Regions from separate parts of the Homo sapiens genome. Here all the other regions are linked to region 3. Evidence: promoter capture Hi-C in human tissues and cell types (Jung and others, 2019). All regions are on one chromosome and are shown on one strand. The core of a region is centred on a gene start or on the middle of the fragment in contact, and the rest is flanking DNA. Distances in the headings are between cores, read along the strand shown.

Region 1 (2,700 bases), core at 2-2,501, 1.2 Mb before region 3:
CTGGAACAAGAAAGAGCAACGTGGTTAGGAGGAAGACATTTCAGAGAAAACCACCTTCAATTTCCCCAAAGCTTTCAGCAGATTTTGGCTGCAGAGGCTTTTTTCGTGAAACAAGAGTGCTTTGTACTCTCCAAGTGCCTTCCATCAGTAGCTCTCCAGCGCCCAGTCATAAGGGAGTCACAGCCAGCTCCCCCTCTCTCCCCACGTGGGTTTGCTACTCAGAAAACCACATTGACAAGGGCCTCCCCGGTTACCAAGGACAAGACGGCAAAAGCCTGAATCCCACTCTGTGCCTCTTCTCTTTCTTTTCTGCTGCCAGCTGGCAGACCTGGTAGAGTGGGAAGCCCTACTTAACAAATGTTGCCATGCTATAATGCAAATCAGCTGTTCAGAAGAGCTCATTAGTGAATGTCTGTGAGTCAAATCAAAATAAGAGAGGGTACAGAACCTGTCCTAACCTCCCCCAAGACCGTGGTGGTTTTTATTTTAACCCCCAAAGTGGTACAAAGAAATTCACATTTTGATTGAAGCCCAGTTACCGTAAATGCTAAGAGTCAACTACCCATTCGTGTTGGTGGGCGCTGTTCCTAAGTTTAAAGAAAGAAACAAAGAGAAGAATATTCCTTCCTTCCTGTTCTCTATCTAGGCCTCTGCAGATCTCAAGTCCATCCTCCACCCTCTGGGGTTGAATTTGAATCCACATCTCCCCAATTATTTCATGTCTTGCTTTATAAGGAGTGGAGTGCTGTGAGTGTATTCTCTTCTACCAGTCAGCGGGCAGGGACCACCTTTTCACTTCATTTCTGCTAAGTAATCTACCCATAAGCTCGGCGTGCGCGCTCAGTGACTACTGGACAGATGAGAAGAAAACACAGCCTCATTCTACATCGGCGAAGAACAGAAGCTTCTGGTTTCTACAGTATGGAGTTAGTTCCGAAAATATATACTTAAATGCAAGTCTGGGTCAGTTCTCTTCTCTTGCAATGAAATTATGGGTAGTTTGAAATCACAAATAATATACTGCCTCACCTAAGTGATGACACAATTCTCCTTTTTCCCCTGGAGAAATCAAATTATCTGATTATGTGCCCTAGAAATGAGTTATGCATAGCAAGAAATCTGCTGTCCATCCATCTTCTGTCCAACAATTCATCATGTCTGTCTTACCCCCAACCACCAGGATTCATTTAGAGGTCATCACACTGGCCAGTCTCCAGACCTCGAGAACAATTTGCTTTAAGCAAGATGTTAACAAACCAGATGCTTATAGTACCTCCTTCCTGCACCTTAAAAGGAGGTCAAACGGCTATGGCAAGTCAATGTCACTTACTACAGAAAGAGGGAGCCACCAGCCAAAATAAATGGACCCAGCTACATATTTTCTAAGTGCAAGAGAGACTAACTTCAGCCTATAGCTTCAGTCTTTCCCCTTAAGTTCCAACTAGTCAAACCTTTTACCAGAACTGCTAACAAGAGATCGGACTCGTTGACTTTTCTCTGTTGTAGAGATAAAAAAAAAAAGCCAATGGCCTCCAACGGTCAAAGCAAAACAGTTTAGGCCATTTTCAATCACACTATCTGAAAAACCCAATCACCGTCATTCCAATGTCTTATTCCAACATTTCTATGGCTTATTTCCTTGTAATAGACTTGTATTTTTAACCCACAGGGAGTCAAATAGAGGTTGCAAAACAGTTCTATAAGAAGCTTTCTTACCCTTAACATAGGTCTGAAAGGATCTGTCAACTGTGAAGAGAAAATGACAACTTGGTTACATGCCTGTCACTCAAACAATTGCTCTAATTAACAAATTTGTAGTGCTTCATTAGGAGGGGAAATTAAAATGTTAGAATTTTACTTTTAAATGAAGCCCTTTTAGAGAATAATTAACCCATTTTCACACTATCAAAAGTGCCAAGTGTCCCCTCCCCCACTTCACAAGCCTTGGTACATCTACGCTGACAAGCCCCTGTACAAGTTTAATCAATAGCAATGTGCCCTCTGGCAACATGATTTGCTCACATCACACACCAGGAGTTTCACTGTTTTGAGCTCCAAACCACACCGGGTAGGTCTGAGGGAGAATGGCCTTCAGACCCCTGGCTTTTAAAGCTGTCTACTAACTGGTATCTGGGGAGAGGTGTCCTTTCCATCCATCCAGGAGAATTAGGCTCTCTTTACCAATACCCTTACATTGATGACTTTACATTATTTATAGCTATTAGACATTTTCCAGAAGTTCACTATACATCATGACATACTTACATAGTTGAGTCATTTTAAACTTCTATCTAACTCTGGTTATCAATTTCTGACTGCCCTTATGTAGGTAAAAAGACAATATTGTTAAAGATTTTTTCATATTTCGTATAAAGATGACTACAAATAACAATGAGGCAAGATTGTATCTATCGTATAACTTCAGATTCCTTTTTTGGAAGCAGGCAGTGGTAATAAATTATGAATAAACAACATAACCAAAGCATAATGGATATTTTATTTAGCTCTAGAGTACAAAAGGATCCCTAGCACATTAAAAATAGAGGGCCAAAGAGCCGTGCAGTACAATAACTTCCTGACCCCAGGCAAGCGGGGGGATGTGTGTAGCCTGACTTCCAGGAAGAAAAGCGCCTTAGTGCTTTTCCATTCAAAACATTCTGTAGCTACTTCATTTGTGTAAGACAATTTAAGGAGATACAG
Region 2 (2,700 bases), core at 71-2,570, 1.1 Mb before region 3:
GTGAGATTCCGTCTCAAAAAAAGAAAAAAAAAGAAAAAGAAATCATGTGTCCTACCCTTTCGAGGAAGCAGTGACTATTATCTATTCAGCTGCCCTGGAGCTGTTCCACCCAAAGAGAGTAACTCTGGCCTTTAACGTTTATGAGCTTAGCAGGTCTCTGGCCGAGGACCTCCTAATTAACAAACACAGTGGCCCTTTCTGTCTCTTTCTGCAGAAGTGGCAGACTGTCTCTCCCTTTGTTACTGGGCTTCCGTGACAAAATACTATTATTATTCTCTTGTTTCTCAAGTAATATTGCCTTCTTTGGATTCTCTTATCCTTTAATATTGAGATTCTTCAGGTATCCCTTCAATGTCTAGAAAGGAGGAAGTGGGGGACTCTCTCTCACCAGTTCCCCAGCTTCCGCTGTAATTTCCAAGTAGGGGGCTCCCAAGACTCCAGCTCCTCCTGCCTTACACTTCTGTATCTCCAACTCATTTGGTGGAGTGTGGCACTGATTGTCCATTGGCACTTTAAAAATCAACAATCTACAGATGACCTCATTGGGATTTCCTCCTGATTGTCAGTGGTCTTACCTAGGCCATCACCCTCCCTAACTCCAAACCCAGTTCACCGAATCCTCAGGCTGCTCTGTCTTCCCTGTGCCTCTTGCTCATTTCCTCCCTTCCACTCTCACTGCCACGGCTTTCGTTCTGGTCCTCAGTCTGCTGGGATATTTTTTGGTATCCTGATTGTCTTCTTCCAATCTAGTGTCTTCCACTCTCACTTTTCACCTAAGCAAAGGTTGCAAACAGGCCAGGCCCAAGGACAGAGCTCTGCGCCAAACCATCTGACACTTCCTTCCAGGTTGACAACGCAAAGAGACAGGTTAGCCAGGGACCAGCTTTCAGATTTCTTCCCTGCCTCACTGACACTGTACGGTCTTGGACACTTTATTAACCTCTTTGAACACAGCAACCTCTTCATTCATAGGGGGGGTTATTACTTGCCATGCCCAGGCTGATAGGAGGAAACTGTGGTGCCTGGTCTCTTGCAAAGCAGAGCCTTGAAATGTGTTGTCTTTTCTGAAATGCAGGGGAATAGGGAAAGAGGCTAGTTTTATTTGCCTTGCTTGGCCTGTAGTGCCTAGCCTAGCATACTACACATAGTAGGAACTCAAAACATTTTACTGCCTTTGAAATAAGGAATTCTATTTTAGCAAGTCCCAAGGTGAGAAAGATATTCTAGGGGCTAGGGCTATCCTTTTAAGGGATAATGTTCCTTTCTTCAAGCGGTTACCCAGGATTGACAAGCTTTCATTTCAAGCATCAAATCTAAGTCATTTTATGAAGGCTATGAGTGGCTGCCCACTGAATACCCAGCTGGGGAGGCAGCGGGTGTAATAAGGCCAGAAGCCATTTCTGTGTGTGCCAGATCTGGGTTTTTGTTGTTTGTTTTTGTTTGTTTGTTTTTTGAGACGGAGTCTCGCTCTGTCACCCAGGCTGGAGTGCAGTGGTGCAATCCTGGCTCACTGCTACCTCCGTGTCCCCATCCCCCCACCAGGTTCAAGCAATTATCCTGCCTCAGCCTCCCGAGTAGCTGGGATCACAGGCGTGCGCCACCACACCTAGCTAATTTTTGTATTTTTATTAGAGATGGGATTTCACCATGTTGGCCAGGCTGGTCTTGAACTCCTGACCTCAAGTGATCCGCCCGCCTCGGCCTCCCAAAATGCTGGGACTACATGCGTGAGCCACCGCACCCCGCCTGTTTTGTTACTCCCTACCAAGGCCCCTTCAGGGTGGCTACTGTCAACCCTGCAGTCAGTGCCTGGGCATAAATAGGTCAAATTCCAAAAAACAGGATGCGGGGGCACTGGGTAAAGAGGGGCAGAAGTTTAAGGGGATGAGGGTTGTTTATTCTTTTATCCTAAGGGCAACTGTGTAGCTGCCCTTGAGACTCTGAAAAGCTGTAAAGGAAGGTCCCCTTATTTATGGAGGTGTCAGCCAAGGCTGTGCAGGATAAACTATGTCTGCCCTGGGCTATGACTGGACACGAGGGAGCGACTAAATGTCTTTTCTAGGCCACTTCTAGCTCTCAGTTTATGAAACCTTGCCCACCTGTGGGCTGTGTCACCCGGAACCAAGTACTCTGCTCAACTCGACGGCAAGAACTTAGCCCCAATTTCCTTTCCTCACTCTGTAATAATGCTGACAAATCTTATTCTCAGCTAGATGAAAATTTTCAGCCTCCTTATTCAACACTTTCTGTTTTCTGACACATGCATATGAGGATCGGGGCTAATATGTGGATGGAATCAATTTATAATTTGACTAAGACGCTGCAGAAAGAAAGGAAGTAATAACAATAATCATTTCATTTGTAAGCCTTCCTTCCCCACCTAGGCTCTTGGTGTGCAGAAAAGGCAATTAAAACAGGGTTCAATTAAAAATACCATAAAACAGAAATCAAATAAAATATTAAAAAGCCAAAGTGCCATTGTTAAATAAGTGTTTGTGAGAGGAGGTCCTCAGACAGTAACAGTCTACAGAGACCAGGCAGCGTGTAGCGTAGCAGGGACGGGGTGTGCCTGAGGTGCGCCTACAGTGAACGTTACTTTGTGGTTTTAGCGCCAAACCTCTGTTTTGTTGAAGAGTAAAAAATAAGGCCCTCCTTGGCCACTCTACAAGTATGTGAATCATATTCATTTTACCCTTTGAA
Region 3 (2,700 bases), core at 94-2,593:
TCGGAGCCCGACGACGAGGCGAGTGAGAGCGCCCGGGTCCGGCCAGCCCCGCCGCCGCCGGCCGCGCCGGCCCCCAGCCCGCCCCGGGAGCGCCTCTCCCGGTCTCGCTGCGACCGCGACCGCCGCTTTTTGCGGAGTCCATGGCCCCGCGTCGGGCCATCCATGGTTCTGCTGCGCCGGGGTCTCCCCGCTTGCCCGCCACAGGCTACGGCCGCAGCCACACAAAAAAAAATTGACACCGAGCCCTCCCTCCCCCTTCACGGCTTCCCTCCGCCCCGAGGAGGGCGCGGGGGAGACGGCGGCCGAAAGAAGGGAGAGAGGGGAAGAAAGAGAGGAGAAAGAAAAGGGGGAAGGGGCGGAGAGAGGGGAGGAGGGACGGGGAGCGAGGGCGAGAGGCGAGGAGCCCAAGTGTGGGGCTCCCCACAGCACCGAGGGTCGGAGATGCCTGGGAGCAGCGCCGAGCAAAGTAATGGCTGAACACACAGGTCTCCTTTAGAGGAAAAAAAAATAACTCACCAAGCAAGCAATAAATCAGAATAGCGGAATGCTTTGATCAAGAGACTGGGAGGCTCCGGGGAGCCCTCCCCGCGGCCATTCTCCGCCGCGCCCCCCGCCCCCCGAAAACGCCCGCGCCCCCCTCAACTCGATCCAAAATCGGGTCCGAAAAAGGTCGCGGGAAAAGTGGGGGCAATGAACTTCACCCGCCCCTCGCGCAGGAAAACACCCCCGCCGCCTCTCACACACGCCTCGGAGAAAACTCACTCCCAGGCTCCCAAATTTTTAAGAAATGCAGCCAGGGGAGGCCGGGGCTCCGGAGCGACCCAAGAGGGGCGAGACCCCCCAGAGAGGGGAGCATAATAATGCAATCATTAGCGGAAGAGAGGGCGAAACTGCGAGCGGCGGAGGAGAAGGGAGGCGGAGGAAGGGAAGGAGGATGCTGCTGGAGCAGTTGTGGGGTTTGCTTTTCGGTCTTCGAGGGGGGAGGAGAGGGAGATGAAAGAAGAGAAGAAGCAAACCCTGTCGCTGCCACCCGCCCCCCTCCTCACAAAAATATTTTTTCCAGTCCCAGAGAAGAGGTCACCCTTCCTCAAAAAAGGGAGGGGGTGAGTCAGTCAGTCGATGAGGAAAGCAGAAAGAAATCTCCAGCGGGAGAGACACCGGTGTGCCGCCGCCGCCGCCGCCGCTTCTCTCGCCGCCCCGCCTGAGGGAGAAGCGCAGCCGGGAACGCTGCTCTCGCCGCCGCCGCTAACGCTGCTGCTGCTGCCGCCGCCGCCGCCGAGAAAGCCCCGAGCCGGAGGGTGCACGGCGTGTCCCCGGGCGGCTGCAGCGGGAGCCCGGGCACTGCCCCATCCTCCGCCCGCCCGCCTGCCTCGCGCAGCTCCCGCTCCTCCCCCTCCGCGGCCAGCCCACCGCCGCCGCCGCCGCCGCCGCCCGCCTCAGCCCAACCCCGCGCCCGCCCGCTCGCTCGCTCGCTCGCTCGCTCGTTCGTGCTTTCGCTCGCTCGCTCGAGTGCGCGCGCTCCCGCGCACCCGCCCTCCCCGCGCCTCTCTCGGCGCGCGCTCCCGCCCCCGCGGCCCCGGCCGGCGGGATCACGTGGACGGCTGGGCTCCCTCCTCCCCCGCCCCCTCCCCAGTTGTAGAGTGTGTAGAAAGCAAAAGGCTGGGGGCTGGCCGCGCTCGCGAGCCCAGGGCATGCGCGCTGGGGCGGCCGGGCCTGCGCACTGGGGGCGGTGGGGAGCTGTGAGGGGGGCGGGGGCGGGGGCGTGGAGGGGGCGCCCGCGTGGGGTCGGCCGCGGCCGGGCAGAGTTGGCGCGCCAGGGCGTGGAAGCCGCCGGAGGATCCCGCCTGTCGCAGCGGGGACGCGTGTGGGCCCCTGCTCCCAGGCCACTTCGCGCGCGCGCCCCCCACATCCTCCTCGGGACACTTGTCCCTGGATCCTCTACCCCTGGCCGGCCCGAGGCCGCCTTCTCGGGAAGCCCCACCAGCCCCCAAGGGTGTTTTCCCTTGGCTACCTGCGCTGCGAGGAGAGAAGGGAATTCAGAGAAGGGGTACAAGGGGGGCGTCCCTGGGAGGGGGCGCGACTGGAGGAGACAGAACGGGGAGCGGGTGCCAAAGCGCGGGCCTTTGCTCCGCCTGGGCGCAGTGGGAGCACCAACTGGCAGAGTTGGAAACTTTTCCTCCACGTGGCACCACAGTGCGTGGACGAGCGACCCCGCGCCCGGATGACCCCTGGGATTCCCGCCTCGTCTTCCAGCGGGGGACCTAGGGACGCACGGGCGGCTTCAGATCCGGGAGCGCGAGGCCTAACAGCCGGGGGCCGAACTTGAACCTCGGAGGCGGCCGCGGGCGAGGGGCGGGGCCGAAGGGGCCGGGACCGCCGCCCCAGCTCGAGGACCCGTTAGACCGGCAAACCGCAGTCCCTGCCCCGCGGGCTTCCTTTACTTTTTGGGAGTGGGGGGCGGTTTCCCTGCTTTTTCCACCACAGCCCCTCCTCCCGCCGCAATGTGGCTGATGCTCATAAAAAGTTGTATTAAAGAGCTGACTGCAGCCGAGAATCGATCAACAAAAGCGACCAGCCTCTCTGGGTAAAATAGCTGTGCGTTTTTCAGGGCACTGGAATTGATCTATACGGATCAGAAAGACCGACAGCCCGCTCTCAGCAGCCTCTTGGATACGCTTCACTTTCTGTCCAGGCACATAA
Region 4 (2,700 bases), core at 138-2,637, 1.1 Mb after region 3:
AGTAATACTGCTGTATCATTCTGTAACTTCATCCTTCCTGACACAGGACCAGAGATGCTTGGGGGGTCAGGTACACTGAGGGTGATTCTGAAAATTAATATTAATTCTTGTGATAGCTGTACATTTTGTTTTTTTGTTTATTCTTTAGTCATGCTCTGTTGCCCAGGCTGGAGTGCAGTGGCATGAGCACGGCTCACTGCAGCTTCGAACTCCCGGGCCCAAGCTATCCTCCTCCCCGTCAGCCTCCCAAGTATCTGGGATTACAGGTGCTTGCACCCATACCCGGTTAATTCTTTTATTTTCTGTAGAGATGAGGTCTCATTATATTCCCCAGGCTAGTCTCAAACGGCCTCCTAAAGCACTGAAATTAGAGGCGTGAGCCACTGTGCCTGGACAAGCTGTACATATTTTAATTAACTGGGTACTTAGTTAAGATTTATGGACTGTCTTCACAAATAACTTTAGCAAGAGAATTCCAAGCCTAACTGCAGTTCATGCATATCCTCATAGAATTTTCTTCCATACCTGATATCCAGTAAGATGTTCTAAATCCTAAAGAAAAGCTGAGCTGATCAAGCTATATTTAAAGAACTTGCCTACTCTTTTTCATGATGGGTAAATATGCAGTGTTCGTGATACTTTTGAAACACAGAAAGTAACGGTAGCTTCTTCCTCTTGCCATCTGTAACTCCTAAGAATCTGGAGGTTCTAGAGTTGTTACTGTTAATTTAGTTCAGGACACTTGTTTGTACTGATCACGAAAAGCTAGGCTCAGAAATGGCAAGTAATTTGCTGATGTCACACAGCTAGCTCATTACCATTTCCAAGCCGTTCATTAAAGCTCTGGTTGCTATGATATACATTGTTATAATCCAAGTCAGAGGTATGTCTATTTATATCTACTTTAGAATTTTTCTCAGCCAGAGGCTGAGCCTATGGAGAGGCTGTTGAGTACCAGCTGTCTACGGCTTATATTGTTAATTCATTAAACTTCATGCTTTATCCTCTCTGGAAATCACTGGCAAACAATAACACTGGAGTACTTGCTTGCTGCAATTGCTGACAATATCAATTATTTAGTTTTCTGCCAATTCCTATTAGACTTTTTCTAACTGGAGAATTTACACTGTGTTATTGAATTAAAAACAGTGGAAAGCTTTGGGGAATTTAAACTAATTAGCCAGCATTTGTAAACCCCTTTGTGTGAGATAATTTGTTTACATGACTAATTCAACCTTTTAATTATGGGGGCCCGCATGGACCATGAAAGGTGTCACTACAGCCATCCTTTGCTGAGCACTGGGAAGGCAACATGGCAAAACTCATTTTTCTTTGTGATGAGGTATGATGACCAGCTCACTGATACCTAACCTTGCATTTTAGCATGTTTATAATTACACCTACGAGAAGCTTTAGTCTTCCCACGCTTTCAGGTGTGCCTTTTTCTGAGCAATTTCTCATTCATGTTTGCAGGGCAGCTCCAAATCACTGCCTCATCCATTCTCCATTTTTTTCATAGCTCCTGTCCCCTCCCCACCATCTATTCCTTTTAGATCTCTTTGTCCTTCAGAATTTACTGTTGAATTGTCATTTAGAATTCACTGTTGCATTCTTCATTGCTAACATGTTTTAATGTCCCCTTTATCCAGGATTTCATGTGAACAGTCATGGTTGATTATCCAGTCTGGGTGTAGATATCATGTTAACTGCATGGCCTGGATTCAAATAAATTTAGCTACAGCTAAATTTACCTTGGCAAAAGAGAACAGAGACCATAGACATCCATTTTTGTCTACTGTGAATGTGATGGTGTGGTTCTCTCTAATATGAAGTACTTCTATTTAATAGAGAGAGAGACAAGAACTGGATAAATATCTAAATTGTGTTTCTTTGTGGTCTATTGATATTGGGTTACCAAAATGCAACTTTTTGTTGAGAATGTATTTCCCAGGAGTGATTCTGAGAAATAATATTAATTCTTATGGTAGCTGTGAATATTTTAATTAAGTAAGTACTTAAGATTCAAGGACTATCTCCACAAATAACTTTAGCAAGAGAATTCCAAGCATAACTGCAGTTTATGCATATCCTCATGAATTTCCCTTCTTACCTGATGTCTACTAAGATGTTCTAAAGCCTAAAAAAAAGGTGGGTTATAAAAAAGTGGGCAAAGGACATGAACAGACACTTTTCAAAAGAAGTCTTACATGCATCCAGCAATCATATGGAAAAAAAAGCTCAGCATCACTGATCATTAAAGAAATGCAAATCAAAACCACAGTGAGATTCCATCTCACACCAGTCAGAATGGCTATTAATAAAAAGTCAAAAAATAACAAATGCTGGTGAGGTTGTGCAGAAAAAGGGATGCTTACACAGTTGGTGGGAGCATAAGTTATTTCAGCCATTGTGGAAGACAGTGTGATCTTTCCTCAAAGACCTAAAGAAAGAAATACCATTCAACCCAGAAATCCCATTACTGAGTATATACCCGAAGGAATATAAATCATTCTATTATAAAGACACATGCACATATATGTTCATTGCAGCACTGTTCACAATAGCAAAGACATGGGATCAACCTAAGTGCCCATCAATGATAGACTGGATGAAGAAAATGAGGTACATGTACACCATGGAATACTATGCAGCCATAAAAAAGAACAGGATTATGTCCTTTACAAGAACACAGATTGAACT

What was found. The method cuts DNA at HindIII sites, captures the fragments that hold promoters and counts their contacts. A contact is called where the count stands out against the background at its distance.
Region 1: a contact is called between a fragment that was not itself captured here and the fragment with the promoter of AUTS2 in region 3, in 1 of the 25 tissues and cell types used here (lymphoblastoid cells).
Region 2: a fragment that was not itself captured here is called in contact with the fragment with the promoter of AUTS2 in region 3 in 1 of the 25 tissues and cell types used here (lymphoblastoid cells).
Region 4: a fragment that was not itself captured here is called in contact with the fragment with the promoter of AUTS2 in region 3 in 1 of the 25 tissues and cell types used here (dorsolateral prefrontal cortex).

What each region holds. Positions count from the first base shown.
Region 1 is chr7:70,774,403-70,777,102 of GRCh38, reverse strand. AUTS2 (activator of transcription and developmental regulator AUTS2) reads right to left here. Exons shown (of 19, transcript NM_015570.4): 13 at 1,717-1,746. Among named protein-coding and RNA genes, the nearest start is that of GALNT17, 360 kb to the left of the region's middle. The HindIII fragment of the contact is 3,112 bases long and covers 1-2,700 here.
Region 2 is chr7:70,669,937-70,672,636 of GRCh38, reverse strand. All of the region lies in intron 5 of AUTS2 (activator of transcription and developmental regulator AUTS2), which reads right to left. Among named protein-coding and RNA genes, the nearest start is that of GALNT17, 460 kb to the left of the region's middle. The HindIII fragment of the contact is 3,753 bases long and covers 1-2,700 here.
Region 3 is chr7:69,597,118-69,599,817 of GRCh38, reverse strand. It overlaps AUTS2 (activator of transcription and developmental regulator AUTS2), which reads right to left and starts at 1,343. Exons shown (of 19, transcript NM_015570.4): 1 at 1-1,343. The coding sequence starts at 164. CT66 (cancer/testis associated transcript 66) reads left to right here and starts at 2,194. Exons shown (of 3, transcript NR_148927.1): 1 at 2,194-2,700. RefSeq lists silencers at 30-99, 1,264-1,343, 1,364-1,783 and enhancers at 864-913, 2,094-2,173. The HindIII fragment of the contact is 7,960 bases long and covers 1-2,700 here.
Region 4 is chr7:68,541,222-68,543,921 of GRCh38, reverse strand. No RefSeq gene overlaps it. Among named protein-coding and RNA genes, the nearest start is that of CT66, 1.1 Mb to the left of the region's middle. The HindIII fragment of the contact is 5,228 bases long and covers 1-2,700 here.